Linked DNA regions of Homo sapiens: region 2 is linked to region 1. Evidence: promoter capture Hi-C in 16 types of primary human blood cells and fetal thymus (Javierre and others, 2016). All regions are on one chromosome and are shown on one strand. The core of a region is centred on a gene start or on the middle of the fragment in contact, and the rest is flanking DNA. Distances in the headings are between cores, read along the strand shown. Region 1 holds the start of OR9K2 (olfactory receptor family 9 subfamily K member 2). Region 2 has its middle 13 kb from the start of PPP1R1A.

Region 1 (3,725 bases), core at 346-2,845:
CTTTGTTTTTCAGCTTAGCAACAAATCTTGCTGCTGCTCACTCTTTGGGGCCCTGCTGCCCTTATGAGCTGTAAAATTCACCACCAAGGTCTGCAGCTTCACTCCTGAAGCAAGCCAGACTACAAACCCACCCGAAGAAAGAACAGCTCTGGAGGTGCCACCTTTATGAGCTGTAACACTCATTGCAAAGGTCTGAAGCTTCACTCCTTTTTGTTTTTTTTCTTTTCTTTTTTTGTTTTTGTTTTTTAATTATTATTAGACTTTAAGTTCTAGGGTACATGTGCGCAACGTGCAGGTGTGTTACATATGTATACATGTGCCATGTTGGTGTGCTACACCCATTAACTCATCATTTACATTAGGTATATCTCCTAATGCTATCTGTCCCCCCCCGCCACCTCAGGACAGGCCCCGGTGTCTGATGTTCCCCACCCTGTGTCCAAGTGTTGTAGTTGTTCAATTCCCACCTATGAGTGAGAACGTGCGGTGTTTGGTTTTCTGTCCTTGCCATAGTTTGCTGAGACTGATGGTTTCCAGCTTCATCCGTGTCCCAACAAAGGACATGAACTCATCCTTTTTTATGACTGCATAGTATCCCATGGTGTATATGTGCCACATTTTCTTAATCCAGTCTATCATTGTTGGACATTTGGGTTGGTTCCAAGTCAGCGAGACCACAAACCCACCGGGAGGAACGAACAACTCCAGACATGCCACCTTTAAGAGATTTTAAGAGCTGTAACTCACTTTTGAAGTCAGTGAGACCACAAACCCACCAGAAGGAAGAAACTCTGGACACATCTAAATATCTGAAGGAACAAACTCCGGACACACCACCTTTAAGAACTTTAACACTCACCGGAAGGAACCAACAGTTCTTTAAATTATTTTGAACTATATACAGGGACTGATGAGAAGTTACTAACTTAATACATGACACCTGAATAAACAACTTTAAAGCAATTAAAATTACAATATAAACCCAACTTTAGATCCAGTTAATCATGTGGCCTTTACTTGATGGATTAGAGGGCGTTTGTTGGATTTTTGCCCATATCATGGTCGTGCTGTTCTATCTTTCTTCTCAATTACTATTGAGAAAATATAGTTTAAAAAGTCATCAAGGAGAGATTTGGGTGAATAGAATTCTGAAAGTAAATATGAAATTAACTTTATGATTAGGACTCAAAATTTTCCTACAAATGGCATTATGAACCACAACATTTCCTTTCGTATCTATTTCTACTTGCTTATCAAAAACTGTGCTATAATGATAAATTGAAAATGCTGCTTTTTCAGTGAAGAAATTAAAATTAAAAGATCCTTGTGATTTTTCCTAAAGAATGTCTCATATGTACTTTAAGTACTCTTAGGCTTTTTAAAAAAATATAGAATCTCTGAGGTCTTCATGGATCTTGCTTTTAGATCCTAGAAGTCTTACTAATTAATTGACTTGTGTTCTTCTCTCCCAGAGGTACTGTCTCCCAGAACATAGAGGAAATCTCAATACTGTAATTATATGAAAAAGCTGTAGCAAAACCGAAGCCCTCGTGGATAACTGCTGTTGATATTTTGGCAGTATTCAGAGATGCCAAAGAGCTCAGGACCTCTACTTGCATATCCATGGCAATCTATCCTCTTGCCTTGAAAGCATACAAGTTTCTGAGAATTCAGGATAGATAATATCTTGTGGATTGATTCCTCAGGTTCACTTTGCTTATCTATAGATTTTTGTTCCTGGAATCACTTCAGTTTTGGCAGAACATGATTTGAAAAATTCACCTTGACTCTCTTCTAAAAAGGACTATAAAACTTTTCAGGAAATCAACTACTGAAAAAAAGACTTTTTAAAATAGAGCAATGAGGCACATAAGCCACATTTATCTATGGGAAGAATCTAAAACTGTAATAATAAATGTGGATTTGTGGGGAATGATTCATTTTATTTCAAAGTAATTATTTTTCAGTATTTATAATTATGACAGTCATTAATTAACTTTATGTTTATCCTTTCTAGAATTAAAACAATAAACAGAGGAAAACATTGGAACTCTGCTGATTGATTTTTACCAGAATCTGACCAGTTACTAAACAATACAAGGTAAAAGTAACTTAAAACCTGTAAGTTTTTGAAAAATAAGTCACAAACTGACTACTTGTTGTTGGCTTCTGCGGGAATAACTCCCTTTTCCAGGTAAAAAATGTCATCAGCAATGCATTTATTAACATTTATAATGTTACAATGTTTATAACATTTATGATATAAATTTATTTTAATAAGTTTGTTTTTTTATATTCTCTGATTCCACATACTCATTATCATTCAGCTTTTTTCTACGTAATAATATGTATTGAATTATTGTCATTCACTAGATTCAGAACATTATGTTGACAATACGCAGCAAACAAGCTGAGTTTGATGTTAAGGATATTATTGTCAAGTGAGGAATAATTACTATTAATAATAATATTAAATTCTAATGTTGAAATGAGTTTGATAGAAATAAATCTTAGAAATTAAAATAATCTGTTTTGCTTCTAGATGAGAATAAAATGAAGATAAATTATATATATTATTTTTCAAAAAATGATTTTTCATGCTGACTTCAGTCAGCTTTCTTTCACTTCTTAAATGTCTCACATCTTTCCAGACCCTAAGTGCAATCTAATGTAAGCTCTTACTACTTCTTAATTACTTACATATTTAATTTTTGATAAAATGGGTGAATATTTTATTTTCAACATTTAATACAGTCTTAAATAATGATAACATCTTATTCAGCTTTTCTCTTAATAATCTTTTTTCTCAGGCAAAATATTCCATTTCTCCAAGAGTTCTTCATCTCTCTAAACTTTTAACAGATTGATTCTTCCCCTCAACTGAGAATGTTTTGTCCAAAAACGACCATATATATTATTGGTTTTCAACCTAATAAGCACTATTTGGTATGAATAGTGGGACTGAGCACTGAAACGTATAATAAAAATAATGGCTAACATTTACTGAATACTTAGTTTACCATAAATGGTGCTAAGTGATTTACATACGTATGTCATTTTCTATTCCCAAGAAAACTTTGAGGACTCTTATTTCCACTTTATATATGAGAATACAGTAGCATAGAGAGAGAGCATAAGTAACTTGTCCAAGATCCCATTTAGAAAGTGAGAGAAGCAGAACTGGAGCCTAGATTTATTTAAACCTAAAACCCATACTAACCACTGCAGTATTGGATGGATAGTTTTTATATTTTTCTCTGTTTCTGCATGATCATTATCATTCAACTTTTATCTATAGTAAATATGTATTAACTGCCATTTACCAGACACATAACGTTATGCTGACAATATATGGAGAACAAATTGAATTTTGTCTTAAGTTATTGTCAAGTGAAGAATAATTAATATGTAACCTCAATATTAAAATATGGTGGCAGTTGGTCTCTTCAAATTATCTTTGGATGAGATGTTTTGACCCAGGTTGAAGAATTAGAGATTTTATTTGGAAATATGAAATTTTAACTACACTCTAAAGTACAAGCAGAAGTAAGGTAGGGGAACAGGAAGGGTCCTTTATTTAAAGTTGATATAGTACAGTGATTAATCATTAATGATGATTAAAAGCATGGATTCTGGAGCCAGTTTTCCTGGCTTCAAATCTTGATTCTGACTCAAGTAAGTGAATTTCAGCAGACTTCATTTCTCTGTACCTCAATTTACTCATC
Region 2 (4,099 bases), core at 1,130-3,629, 520 kb before region 1:
TGGCAGGGTCAGTGAATCGGAGGTCTGGATCAGGTCAAAGAATTGTTACAACTGGACTTCTACTGTAATGGAGATGGAAGGGCAGGAAATTGTGGCCAGACGTGGGATTCTTGAATTTAGGATTTTGGAAGTGGCTGTGGTGGCGCGTAGGCTGAGGTACAAAGGTTAAGAACTGAGAAGTCAGAGTGTTGGGGGGTCATCGGCATGAACACTGACAGTCCTCAAAAAAGGACAGGAGCAAGTGGGAAGAGGAAGACCAGGTGCTGAGGTTAGGGGCTCCCTGTAAGGGAGAGGGGTTGGTAGGAGGGCGCAGCATGTATTCTGAGCTTCAAAGAAGGGGAGATTTTGGAGTAGAACGGAAGAGGAATGGTTTAGAAGTGGCAGTGGAGAACAAGGAGGAAAATCCTTCTTCCCACCTTCGGATTCTGAGGCGGTTGGTGGCTAAAGGAGAAAGCAGTTTCCACTTGAGAGTGAAATAGAGGTTGTCAGAGTCTCAGAAAATCTGAAATTATTATTATTATTATTTTTTAAAGGACAGGTTCTTACTCTCTCACCCAGGCTGGAGTACAGTGGCATGATTGTAGCTCACTGCAGCCTTGAACTCCTGGGCTTAAGTGATCCTCCCACCTCAGCCTCTGAAGTAGCTGGGGCTACAGGCACGTGCCACCATGCCCAGCTAATTGTTTTTATTTTAGAGACAGGGTCTTGCTATGTTGCCTAGTCTGGTCTTGAAAACCTAGCCTCAAGCGTTCCTCCCACCTTGGCCTCCCAAAGCTCTAGAATTACAGGCATGAGCCACCACACCTGGCCTTAAAATGTTATTTTAGATTAGGCAATATCAGTTGAAAGATGGGAGAAGAAAGAAGAAAAAACGGGTATCAGTTGAAAGTTGGGAGAAGAAAGAAAAAAAAGGGAGATTAAGCAATAGAGAGAAAATTCAAAACAAGACATTGGGAATACCAAGGAATTTACTGACCACTGATCAGGAGTTCTAGAGGGCATAGTAAAAGGGTTTGGCAGAGAGAGACTGGGCAGAGAGAATTGGGCTAGATTTGGGGCTGACAGAGCCAAACAGGGTAGGGGTTCTGGATGACAAATATATCTGAAAGCTTTGGCTTGGTCCTGGAAGTGACTGTGGTCAACAGAGAGACAGAACCCAAGGATCTTGGTTGCCCACCTTTCTACAAGAGGAATCAGGACAAGGAATAGACCTTGGTGCCTACCTGAATGGTTTCAAGGCCTTTGGTGACTGATTCCTATGGCTTAAGGGGGGATGTGAGTGGTGGCTAATCCCATGGGAGATGTGTGGGAGCAGAATAACTAATGGCCCCACAAAGAGGTCCACGTCGGAAATCACAGAACCTGTAAGTGTGTTGGGTTACACTGGCAACAGAGAATTAAGGTTGCAGATTGAACTGAGGTTGCTAATCAGCTGGTCTTAAAATAGGGAAATTCTCCTAGATTATCTGGGTGGGCCTGGTATAATCTCAAGCATCCCTAAATGTGGACAAAGGATTCCAAAGAGATAACTAGACTGATGGCAGGGTGAGAAGCCTTGGCCGGATGGGGCTGGCTTTGAAAATGGAGGAATGGGGCCATGGGCCAAAGACTGTGGACAGCCTTTAGAAGCTGGAAAGGGCAAGGAAATGAATTCTCCCCTAGAGACTCCAGAAAGGAACGCAGCCCTGCCTGCTGACATGCCTTGATTTTAGCCCAGTGAGACCCATCTGGAACTCCTGAACTACAGAACTGTAAAATAATTAATTTGTGTTGTTTTAAGCTGGTAAATTTGTGGTAATTTGTAATTAGAAAACTAATACAAGATGAAAGGCTCTCTTCTGGGTGACTGCTCCTTCCCACAGGGTGAGATGCTATGACAGCTGGTGAGACAGAACATTTATTACACCACGTTTCACCAGGGGGCGGAGTTAATGCATCAACAGGAATGTTCCTCAACAGCTTTGCCTCTTTCCCTCCTGCCCTCTCTCATGAGGGTGCACACTTGGACAGGACTTCACCTTCCCACCTCTTCCCTGGGGGATGCATGCTGTTTCTCTCACCGTTTAGTGGCTCAGGCAGGACAGAGAGAAGGCCCCTTTTGGGCTTGTGTCTCGATAGCATTCTCCAGCTCAGCCTTGCCAGAGAGGTCAGAGTGCTGTGGGTTCCCCGGCACTTGTCTGGCTGTTAATACAATCGATGTTTTGGTTTCCTTTTTGCTCCTTGTTCTCTGGACACCTTCTCCATTGGCCAGACTCAGAGGGGCAGAGGGATGACGTGCTGGTGGCCCTCCCTGGAGCTGTGATGGTGAAGTCAAAGACTGGCCTTGGGGGACCCAAATACAGTGGATTTTAACAGCAAACACTCTAAAGGTAACTCTGACCTGCAGCTGCGTGGGTGCAGCTGAGGCTGGAATGAAATTATCCCAATTCCACTTGGGTACAGAGCATAAGGCTGTGAAATTTTGGCTTCAGATGATGTGTGTTAATATTTAGTAGGTGATGCTAGGTTGGCTGTCCAACTGATTGTCTAGTTTGGTTTCTTTTATGTTGTTGTTCACTTTTTTCCTAGTTTTCATTTAACACGTTTCTCTTGTTCTTTTTTCTCACCCACAGATGCAGGTCCCAATGTGTGCTTTGTTTTGAACTGCATTTAGGGTGGCAGGAAGACTCAGGAGGGATTTTGTTTATGGCCTGATCACAGGCTCCTGGGATTATTTCCTACCACGTAGTCTCAAAGTGGCTTGGGGTTGTACATTTATGAAGCTCCAGCCAGGGTTTCAGATTTCAGAGTCCCACTGTGGGATTAACCACAGAGGTGTGGTCGACTTCATACAGATAAAAATAATGGGATCCTTTATGTGGAGGAAATGTCACTGGGTGAAAGTGAAGAAAAACTCCATGGAATTACTATAAACTTGAAGAGTATGGGAGAAATGAACAAGTCCTGTACCTGGAAAACTCTTTAGAAATCATATTTTCCTAAGAATCAGGGAAACGTGGGGTTCATATAAGGTACAAGTCTTGGTCTTATAGTGAGACAAGTCAGACAGAAAGGGAAAAGAAAAAAGAGGGCAGTTCTGTTGATTGAGTTGGGAGAAAAGATGAGATTTTCTCAGGAGAAAGTTTGAGTTCATAGAGCCCATGCTTGAGATACATTAAAAGAGAAGGGAAATGGCTCTATGCCTAGATAGTTTTAAGGATGGAACTAGAAGAGAGCAGAATATTTATTTATTTCTAGATCACGGAGGGTGAATGGGGCCTGGAGAGATTTAACAACGATGCAAAACAGTTTGAGGCCGCTAGAGGGAGCGTTGACCCAGTCACTTGCACAGAGTGAGGGAAGACGAACAGGAAGTTTAGTGGTGAAACATTATTAGGTAAGTTTCAAAGGAATGCAGGTTTTTTTTTTTTTTAATGGGGGTTTGGGGGCTGTTATTGCCCATGTCCTGAGGAAGCATGCCACAGAATTACTGAGAAGATGAAATACACTCTAAAGGGAATTCATGCGTGAAATAAATAGATCTAGTCACGTCTGAGATTCTATGTTTTCTAAAAATTTTTAATTTTTTAATTGACAAATCATAGTTGTATACATTTAAGGGGTACAATGTGATGTTTCGATATATGTATACATTGTGGTATGATTGAATCAAGCTTAAACTTCTAAATATCATAAGATGATAGAAATATCCTAAGCCCCCACTTTGAAAGAAGAGGCTGTATACATGACCCCACCCTCTGAAGGCAAACTTAATGCCAACATTAGTCACTCCACGAGAGATTTCTCCCACTTGTGAAGTCAAGGCTTTCTCTCTTCTTGCAGATACCACTTAGTTTCTGCCACAGTATGATGCTGGCATTAGCCATGGGATTCCTGCACAGCTCAAGTGCCCCATGTGTCTTTTGAGCCTTGAGGAGGAGACTGACATGGAGATGCCTTGCCATCCCCTCTTCCAACGCAACTGAACCTTCCCTGGTTAAGCAAGACAAATTCCTCCCGCTATGCTGCCGTGAGCTGCTCACTGATAATGACATGTAGGAGGAACACAGATGAGATGAGGCCCACAAGCAGCAGCAGAAGTGTGGCTGGAGAACCTGCA

Evidence for each region. Contacts are between HindIII fragments. The CHiCAGO score rates a contact against its expected background, and 5 or more counts as called.
Region 2: a contact is called between a fragment that was not itself captured here and the fragment with the promoter of OR9K2 in region 1, in 2 of 17 cell types (activated CD4 T cells and naive CD4 T cells). The highest score is 5.4, in activated CD4 T cells.

Annotation. Positions count from the first base shown.
Region 1 is chr12:55,124,811-55,128,535 of GRCh38, forward strand. OR9K2 (olfactory receptor family 9 subfamily K member 2) reads left to right here and starts at 1,596. Exons shown (of 3, transcript NM_001005243.2): 1 at 1,596-1,706; 2 at 2,018-2,101. The HindIII fragment of the contact is 7,142 bases long and covers 197-3,725 here.
Region 2 is chr12:54,600,076-54,604,174 of GRCh38, forward strand. No RefSeq gene overlaps it. Among named protein-coding and RNA genes, the nearest start is that of PPP1R1A, 13 kb to the left of the region's middle. The HindIII fragment of the contact is 2,544 bases long and covers 1,108-3,651 here.